Regions from separate parts of the Homo sapiens genome. Here region 2 is linked to region 1. The links are contacts of gene promoters, found by promoter capture Hi-C in human tissues and cell types (Jung and others, 2019). All regions are on one chromosome and are shown on one strand. The core of a region is centred on a gene start or on the middle of the fragment in contact, and the rest is flanking DNA. Distances in the headings are between cores, read along the strand shown.

Evidence for each region. Contacts are between HindIII fragments. The study calls those that stand out against the background at their distance.
Region 2: a fragment that was not itself captured here is called in contact with the fragment with the promoter of DNAH9 in region 1 in 1 of the 25 tissues and cell types used here (dorsolateral prefrontal cortex).

What each region holds. Positions count from the first base shown.
Region 1 is chr17:11,595,590-11,600,592 of GRCh38, reverse strand. DNAH9 (dynein axonemal heavy chain 9) reads right to left here and starts at 2,123. Exons shown (of 69, transcript NM_001372.4): 1 at 1,678-2,123. The coding sequence starts at 2,094. The HindIII fragment of the contact is 9,113 bases long and covers 801-5,003 here.
Region 2 is chr17:11,266,029-11,271,031 of GRCh38, reverse strand. All of the region lies in intron 2 of SHISA6 (shisa family member 6), which reads right to left. Among named protein-coding and RNA genes, the nearest start is that of SHISA6, 27 kb to the right of the region's middle. The HindIII fragment of the contact is 4,555 bases long and covers 298-4,852 here.

The DNA of each region.
Region 1 (5,003 bases), core at 874-3,373:
ATTCAGTCACCCAGTCCCCTGTTGATGAACATTGTTTGTCTCCAATCTCTTTCAATGCACCAATGAAAATTCTTAAACATTCGAGAATTTTCATTATTTTAAAATTATTTTTCTTGCTGGACTACTTTGCTTGGCCATGACACAACTCTGAGATGGGCCTTCTGTCTCCCACATACACTAGGTTAAATCCTGTCTCTGAACCTTTGATCAGTCTGCTCTCAGTATCTTGAAAGTTACCTTGCTCTCTACTTATACAAATTCTTCTAATTGTTCAGGAGACAATTCAACACTTATGTTAAGCATGCTTCTCAGATCACAGGCCTGTCTTTCTCCTCTGAAGCCAAAAGTACTTTCTATCGTCAACATTCATTAGAGAAGCTGATCTAAGTTCAGGCTTCAGCGGGATGGCTTTCAGACAATGCACAGTTGCAAGACCATTCTGTTTGTTAAAATATTGAAATACCTCCATATCTAAGAGATCTAGCTTCCTGGGCCCTCTGTGTCCTCCTCTATCTATCCAACCCTTTCCCTGGAATTTTCACCTCCCCACAGCCTCCTGATACACCATCTAAAGGGCTTACACTTGACATAGCAGGGAGACTCCAGGACTTGCATCCAGCAGTGGGGCCAACTTTTAGGTAAGCTTTACCCTCACCCCAGTCTTAAAAGTTTGAAACATTTTGAATATATGAATTATTACATACGTTTCAGCTCCTTGGAGTAAGCATTTCATGGGTGGGAATAGTTCTTTGGTATTCCCTATAGCACCTATCACCTGAACCATCATACAGCCAGTATTCTGCCCATCCTTATTTCACAACCTGCAGGGTCCAGGGCATCAAGCCTCCATAAGCACACAGCCTGACTTGCAGGGCAGTTTACTCCCATTCCAGAAAGGTCTAAGGGGCCCAGGAATCTCTCTGGAGCACTTCCCTGAAATCTCCTGCATTCTCGAAGCTTCTGCTGTGGTGCCACTAAAGCACTCATGACCCACATCTCCACCTTCCTCCCTGAGCTTCAGGCAGACTCCTCCAAAGGCCTGCTGGGCATTTCCAAATGGGAGCCCAACTTCTTATGCTGGCACAGGGCTGACCTTTGCTAAATGGTTGGTAATGAATGAATGAGATGAAAATCAAAAGCAAATCACTACCCACCTCCCCCTCCCATTTAACTGCTCTCCAGAAGTAGGCACTGTTTATAGCCATCCACCTCCTTCCACCCCACTGATCCATCAGAAATGCCGTCTTGTCCACTTCCCATCTTCTTCAGATCTTTCCAATTTACAGGAGGGATTACGAGAGGCTGATTTTGAAAGTAGTCAGAACCTAGGCACTCTTCAGATTATGGTCTTCCCCTGACTTTGGCTGGAACCCAGACCCGGACTGACCCAAGCCTCAGCTCCTTCCCATTCTCATTCTGGCCTGGCCTCCACCCAGATCCCTCCCTCCGGACCCACCCGACTCCGCCCCTAACCCCATCCCATTTTCTTCCTGACTTCAGGAACTTCCCTCCTGGTTGTGCTCCCTCCACAGCCTCGCCCCTCTGCCTATCACTCCGCCTCTTGGACCTCCCCTGCAGCTTCGCCCCGCCCCCTCTGGCCCCGCCTCCGTCCCTTAAGGCTCCTCCTCCCCTCCCCCACCCAGCTTTAGCCGCGCGGGGACACTAACCCACCCTCACCTCCGAGAACAGCGCGGCTAGGTGCTCCAGAGGTGCCGCGGGCAGGTCCCCGCAGACCACTGCGCCGCGGAAGCTGTCGGGCCCTGGAGGCTCGGGCCCGGTGCGAAGGAAAAAAAGCGCCTTAGCGCCAGCCAGGCCCGACTCAGGTCCCACCTCCAGCCCGGGGCGTATTGCCAGGCCCCTGGGCCCGGGCCGCACCACCAGCAGCGGCCGCGGCCCCTCGGCAGCATCGCGGCCCAGGAAGGCCTGGAGCAGCTGCTCCGCCTCAGCACTCCCCGCGCAACGCTCCCAGGCGCCCGCAGCCGGCCGCAGGCTCATGGCCACGTAGGTCCCCAGGAGTCGCAGTCGTCGGTCGGCGCCGGGTTCCCCATCCGCGTTCTCCGCCGCGAGCGCGGCCCGCTCCTCCGCGAGCCGCATCGCGCGCGGCCTCCAGCTGCATCGGTTTCCCTAGCGACGGGGACGCGGCCAGGACTCACTCCTCTGCTCCCTTCCTATTGGGCACGGACCCCTGGTCCCGCCCCTTCCAGGCTAATAAGGTAGGAGGTGTACGCGGGAAGGGGCGGGGTCGCGTCGCTGTTGCTAGGACACCAGCCGAGACTCGTACTCAGTGTCTGCCTGGTGTATTGGGAGTGCTGAAGTGTGACCGTGGAGCGCAATGGCTTATTGATGGGCTGCGTGGAGAGGAGATCAAGCATATAAATGCTGTTAAGGATCGTTTTGGCCAAGGTCGAATTAGAGTCTTTAGAGGTCTCCAGACACTGAAAATAGTGTGGTCCTCTTACCTCTATCCTAAATGTGCAATCCAGACTTAAACACAATGCCAAATCATAAAACAGATTTAAGGACATTCAGTGAATTTTATTTCTTTTCCATGATGGCAAATTAAACACTTCAGAACAGTGCTGTCCAGTAGAACTTTCTGCGATGATGGAAATGTTTTCCATCTGTTCTAGCCACGCATGGCCTATAAAGGAGGTGAAATATGCTCGTCCCACTGAGGAAATTTTTAATTTTACTTAATTTTCACTTAAAATTAAATAGTCACATGTGACTGTAGTTATATCGAACAGCTCAGCTTCAAAATTTTAATATCAAGTTTTTTTAAGTTTTCTTCCGTGCCTTTCTTTGCCCATGTTTTTTAAGGCATGTGCTTAATCTTCTAAAAATGTAACCAAACTGTAAGAGGCTTGTTTTTGAGACAGAGTCTTACTCTGTTGCCCAGACTGGAGTGCAGTGGCCGGATCATAGTTCACCGCAGCCTCAAATCCCTGGGCTCAACTGATCCTCTGGTCTCAGATTCCCTAGGAGCTGGGAATACAGGCGCCACCACATCCAGCTAATTTTAAAAATTTTTTGTAGAGATGAGGTCTCGCTGTGTTGTCCAAACTGGTCTTGAAGTCCTGGACTCAACTGATCCTTCTGCCTCAGCCTCCCAAAGTGCTGGGATTATAAGGATGAGCCACCATGCTAGAGTTTTTGACTTCCATGGGTATGACCACTAATCAGTTCTTACTAAATGTAGCAAAGTACTTGTAAATATGCAGGATGCTCAGAACCTTCCCATCCTGCCCTATACCTGGATATTGGCTTCAAAAAGGGATAATATAAAGTGCCTTGCCTGACCTCAGAAATTAGCATTTGTTACCTGCTTAGTCCTTCTCCATGGTCAGGATAAACAGCTTGGCCCTTTGCATGCATGTAAGGTGACAGTGCATGGGTGCTGAAAAAATGGACAAACAACTTGGGCAGCATGAGGTCTGCAGGACTGAATGAGCTCCCCTCTGCCCTGCCATCCTCCCTTTAGTCACCTCCCAGGGACTGCTGAGTTTCTGGGTAAAAGGAATGTTTATAATGGGTTTCAAAGGAATATTAACAGAATAAGCACTTATCAATGGTAGCTTGGCTAACAAGAGCCCCTCGGGAAAACACCAGTGGTTGGGAAGTAAAATGATTGATTTCATAATAACTGGAGCAAAGGAGTTGCTGTAATAAAAAATGTTCATGTTAGAAATGAATCTTTATGTTTGTAAAGGGTGTTTCATCATTGCTGGATTAAACAATAATCAACCAACTATGAGGAAAGGGAAAAAGTGGGAAACTAAAACAATCTTTAGGATGAATTTGGTAACTGACATTTCAAGAAGAAGCATCAGGGAAAAATAGTAATGTCAGGGGCTTCTTACACATATCGTTTTTTGTTTATCTTTGCACATAGGAAGGCATCGTTATTGTTTTAGTGCTTAGGGACTTCAAATGTGTCAACTATGCTCATGTTTCGTATACAGAGTGACTTCAGGACCATTAACTTTCAGTAAACCCTTGAAATAAAATTTCTGCCACCGCACTGTGGCTCTATTATGCCGTTAATCTCCTATGTCCCCTTGCCCCAACATACATAAAAATAGGAACAAAGGAGTCTGTGAATATGACTTAAAGATTTCTGTGTAAGGTGAAGGCTCCTGAATATTAGCAATCCCAGTTTTTAATTTTCTCTCCAAAAAGATACCTTATCTGCATTTTAGAAGGTGATTGGTGGGAGGCATTGATATGGGATTATTGAAAACAACTGACATTTTAAAATATTGTATAATTATGACAAAAATATCCCCAAAATATATTAGTTATCTATCACTGTATAACAAATTACCCCCAAACTTATCAGCTTAAAATAGCAATAGACATTTATCTCACACAGTTTATGGGGGGGTCAGGAATTTAGGAGCTGCTTAGCTCGTAGTTATTGCACAAGGTTTCTCATGATGTTGCAGGCAAGATGTCATCAGGGGCTACATCATCTGAAGGCTTGACTGGGGCTGGAGGAGACACTTCCAAGATGGCTTACTCACATGGCTAGTTGGTTAGTGCTGGCTCTTGGCAGTAGACTTCAACTTCTTAGCATGTGGAGCCCCCATTGGGTATCTGAGTGTCTTTGTAATGCTGTGACTGTCTTCCCCCGGAAGAAGTGATCTAAGAGAGAGCAAGGCAGAAGCCTACAGTGTCTCTTATGACTAGCCTTGGAAATCACACACTGTCATTTCTGCAATTATCTTATTAGTTACAGAAGTCTTCCCTATTCAATATGAGAGGGAATTACATGAGGATGTGAATACCAGGAGACAAGAATCACTGGGTACCATCTTGGAGGCAGGCTACCACAAAAAGTAAGGGAAAGAATGAATTTGCATAAGATGTTCAGCTAAAATAATTTCCATTTTTTAAATTGGAAACTTGAACTCAGTCCCATGAGCGTAATATTTGTAGTAATCATATTTTTTGTTTTAAATGACTATGCACAATTCCTGTTTGAGACTTTTGGTCATGATCTC
Region 2 (5,003 bases), core at 1,326-3,825, 330 kb after region 1:
CCCTAGAGACCCTGGGCCCTGCTGCAACATGATTCATTCATCAGGCCTCATGAACCCTGGTTCAACCAGCTATAAAATCAGAATCAAGCAATACCTTGGCTACAGCCTCAGGGAAGGAAAGAGGGGAATGGGACCTGACATTGGCAGGGCACCTCCTGGGCTCACAGCTCTGTGTTTGCCATCCATTCCCCTATGGGATCCCAGAGAAGGACGTGTCTCTAGTCACATTCCACGTGGAAGGAAATACCGCATGGAAGATGGCTGGGACTTTCAGAGAGGGGCTGACAAACTAGAGCCCACAGGCCAAACCCTGCCCGTTACCTGCTACTGTAAATGACATTTTATGGAAACATATGTCCAAATTTTATGAAAACACGCATCCATTCATTTACTTATCATCTATGGCTGCTCTTGTGCTTCAAGGGCAGAACTGGGTAGTTGCCACAGAGATCTTATGGCCTGCAGAGCCTAAAATATTGACGATCTGGCCCTTTCTGGAAAACGTTTGCCAACTCCTATTTAAGAGCCCTGGACTAAGGTCCAGGCTGTCCAAACCAAGGGGCAATTTGGTCTTTGGTTTGTCTTACTGTGAAACCTACAAGCTCTTTCTACATCACCTTGGCCCCTCTATAGGAGGGTGTCTTCCTGTGGAAAGAGAAGTCAGGGAAAGTCATAGAAAGTTCTCTCATTAACCTGTGCTGTCCACTACTTGGCAATCAGAAAACAGAAATCAGATCATCACACTTAAATACACTCCTCACCGAGCACGGCGGCTCACGCCTGTAATCCCAGCACTTTGGGAGGCGAAGGCGAGCAGCTCACGAGCTCAGGAGTTTGAGACTAGCCTGACCAACATGGTGAAACCCTGTCTCTATTAAAAATACAAAAATTAGCTGGGGGTGGTGATGCACACCTGTAATCCCAGCTACTCAGGAGACTGAGGCAGGAGAATCTCTTGAACCCGGGAGGTGGAGGTTGCAGTGAGCTGAGATTGCACCACTGCACTCCAGCCTGGATGACAGAGCAAGACTCTGTCTCTAAAAACATAAAAACTTACAAAATAAAAATAAATAGGTAAAATTAATTTTAACAATTAGTGCTCAACAGTCGCATGTGGCTAGGAACCAATATATTGGAGAGTGAAGACTTAAAATTGTCTCGCTTTTGTGTCAGATGCGCTTCGATTGCTTTATACCTACATTGATGTCACCTCCCACTTAAGTGACCCCTGTGTGCCTCAGTTTCCTCACAGGCCAAGCATAATTCTGGCCAGCTAATCTCACCATCTCCATAGGGCTCCAAAACCTTATGAGGCTATCATCTCAGACTCCTCCAGAACAACAGTTCTGTTTCTTTGGGGATGACTGAGAAAAGAAAAGTCCTACTTCCTGTGAGAAGCTGAGACTCACCAGAAGTTTCCCAGTTCAGCTGCACAGCCCAGGTTTTCTGGCTTCATGGGCAGCCCTAAACCTGTCCCTGGGAACAGGGACTCTCTGGGTTGCCTGGGCTTCCAAGCCACCCGTGCTTTCTTAGCAGGGTGGAAAGAACTGGAAGGGCACCCTGGGTAACAGTCCCTCTGAGCCCAGCCATGGAAGCGAAGCTCCCAGTCCCTGGCTGCGCTGACCCATGGAGTTCTGGGTCAGCCCCAGATAGGAGGAGAGGGGCCACAGGGCTCAGTAAGAAGCCTGGGCAGGCCAAGCACAGTGGTTCACGCCTGTAATCCCAGCACTTTGGGAGGCCACGGTGGGTGGGTCACGAGGTCAAGAGATCAAGACCATCCTGGCCAACATGGTGAAACTTCGTCTCTACTAAAAATGCAAAGATTAACTGGATCTGGTGGCGGGCTCCTGTAGTCCCAGCTACTTGGGAGGCTGAGGCAGGAGAATCACTTGAACCCAGGAGGTGGAGGTTGCAATGGGCTGAGATCGCGCCACTGCACTCCAGCCTGGGCGACAGGGCAAGACTCCATTAAAAAAAAAAAACAAAACAGACAAACAAAAAAAACTGGGCACCGGATACCAGGACCTTCTGGCTCAACCAGCTGGCTGGTGACCAGCCTATGGTTTATGCAAGTGACGGACACCATACTTACTTTACAGAGAGGGCTACTACATGGGATGCAGTCTTGAAGGGAGTTCTTCAGCATGCAGCAGCTGCATAACCAGCATCTGTGCTTGGATCCTACGCCCATCCAAGTAAAGGACTATGTCATCTTTCATCATTCCCTGAACAAACAGCTCTTGAGCAACTAGGATTTTCCAAGTGATGTTCTTGGTCCTAGGATACCACAATGATAGGAAGATAAAACCCTTGTGTACCTGGGGCTTAAATTCTGATGGTGACAGATAATAAACACATGAACCGACAAATGTATGATGTTAGATGATGTAAGTGCTCTGAGAAAAGTAAAGCCGGAGATGGTAACAGAGAAGGTTAGGAAAGGCCTCTCCAAAACAGTGCTGCTTGAGCAACAGATTCCACAAAACAAATACCTAGTGCTAGAAAATTTGGGGCTACAGAAACAGAAAGGGGGAAATATCTCAATGCAAGAATACAAACAGCATGAGAAGAAACAGTGTGTCTGGAGAAGACTAGTGTGTCTGCAGCCTAGGAGGGAAGCAGAAGGTAGTAGGGGTTGAGGTCAGAGAGGCGTGGGGGGATGGGAACCAGGGCATGCAGGACTGTGGCAGAGTGCTCCTCTGCCACCTGTGCAGCCTCCATTCTGGGTCTCCATGAAGCTTAGAGAGTCATGACCCTTGGCTCCCTTTGTCTGCCATTAATGGATATGGCTTTGACAACAGGCAGGATGACTGGCTGTTCTTTTATACAACTCACAGTGGTATGTAGATGGGCATGAATATTTATTGTCTCCAGATGATGTCACTCTTGATAAAGTGAAGTTGGACATCAACATTCTGTAACCTCAGCACATGATCTCATTGCTACTGCCAGGAATGGGCACCCCACTCTCCCCAGAGGCCCCAGGACAGGCTCTTTAGGAGGGGGTGAGGTCAGGCAAACATGCTGGGTCTCTCCTGCTCCCCATCTACGAAAAGCAAGCCCACAGCAAGCCTCTAAGGTGCTGGACTCAGGGAACTGCAACGCTAGGTACGGTGCATCTCTTCATGACTTCGCTTGGTCCCCTAAACAATCTTTTTATTTCTACTTGTGCCCGCTTTTGCCCAGGGGTCTCCTTTCAAAGCTCCATACTGACCTCCTCCCTCTCTCAGATAAGCCTGAGTCTTCCACTCCCTTCAGCCCCACCCATTAAGGAGAGGACTGGTTACGACAGCCACACTCACTCTGCCTAGCCAGTCTGCATCTTGCAGATCTTGATGTGAACCTACATTCAAAATCTTCAAAGAATCTTTTCCTTATTTGACAGCTTTCCTCCAGTTCCCTCAAAACTTTAAGAGCTCAGTTCTCAAAGTTTTCTGGACAGGAGAACCACGTGGAAGTTTGTTTTTGTTTGTTTCTTTTTTAATATCAATGCCAGGTCCTACTATAGACCAAGTAAATTAGAATCTTTGGGATGGGGGCAGGCATTGGTATTTTCAGAATTCCCCACACAACTCCAATGTGTGACAAGGGCTGATAATCACTGAGCTAAGAGAGGTCTTCTTCAACTTCATCATGTGTACAAATCCTCTGAGGATCTTGTTAAAATGCAGCTTCAGATTCAGTAGGTTTGAGGAAGAGCCCAAGATTCTGCATTTCTAACAAGTTCCAATGGAATGCAGTTGCTCCTGGTCCATGGACCACACTTTGGGTAGCAAGGGTCTGCAGGCAGCCAGATTTGAGGGGTAAGGGATTAAAGCAGGGTTCACTGGTTTTCTACATTCAAACCAAGTGTTCCTTATGGGGCAATCTTTAAAGTTGGAAAGCTGCTTCCTGGAAGAGTTGGGGTAAAAGGCTCTTATAGAAGGGGACAGGATTTTTCTGCTAATGTGGGATTAGAAACTTTCACATCTAAGAAATATTACAGGATCCATTCGCTATTACGCATAAAGTGCCTAGCAGAGTACCCAATACATAGTAAGTTCTCAATCTATGGTACTTGTGTTATTATTGTTTTCATTATTACTGCAGGACTCTCAACCCACATCCCAAACCAACAAAGCATGTGCTTTCAATGTCCAAAACCCTGACCAAGCTCCACAAATTCCTTTCATCCCCAGAGGATGTGCCTCAGACAGGAGCCAACCACAGGAAGGCTTGAGTCCAGGGACCTTCATCCCACACACAATCCCATGGGCCCTGCCTGGTCTAAGGACACCAATGCATTGCCTTTGGTTCTTTCATTCATTTGATTCATTTTCCATGAGCTGTGGATGTGCCTTCATAGCCTGGTCATGGCTAACAGTCAGTGTTTGCTATGTATGGGGACCTGTCTTAAGTGCTTTACTTGGTTTAACTGATTATACCATTAAAACAACTCTGACCTACAGGTATGATTGGCTTCAATAGCAGACAAAGAAACTTGGAAAGACAAAGAATCTTGCCCAAGATCACATACATAGTAAGAGACAGGGCCAAAAAGCAAACTGAGGAACATACTTCAATGCTCAAGCTTTCCCAGTGCTTCTCAAACTCTAATTGCCAAGTGATTTCACCAAATTACAGGTTCTCATTCAGCAGGAGAGGTAGAGTCTGGGATTCTGCATTTCCCACAAGCTCTCAGGTGATGCTGATGTGGCTGACCCACCAACACCATCTTGAGTAGCAAAGCTACTCATATGCTCTGATGCCTGTTGGTGTTGCTGGATATCTCCCTTAATAGCCCCCTAAAAACTTACTACCATACTCCTACAATTGATGGTTTGTTGATTTGATGAGTGGCAAAATTACAGTAAATTTCCACTTTGAACACTCATGCAAAGTTCTGTTCAACTTCTGCTCAAACTGCAATATTTTGTGGCAAAGGATATCAACTGCTTGGAAAAGCATTGTGTCCATTATAATCTGTAGAAGCTGCGGCTTGTGATGAAATTGCTTTTAAATTT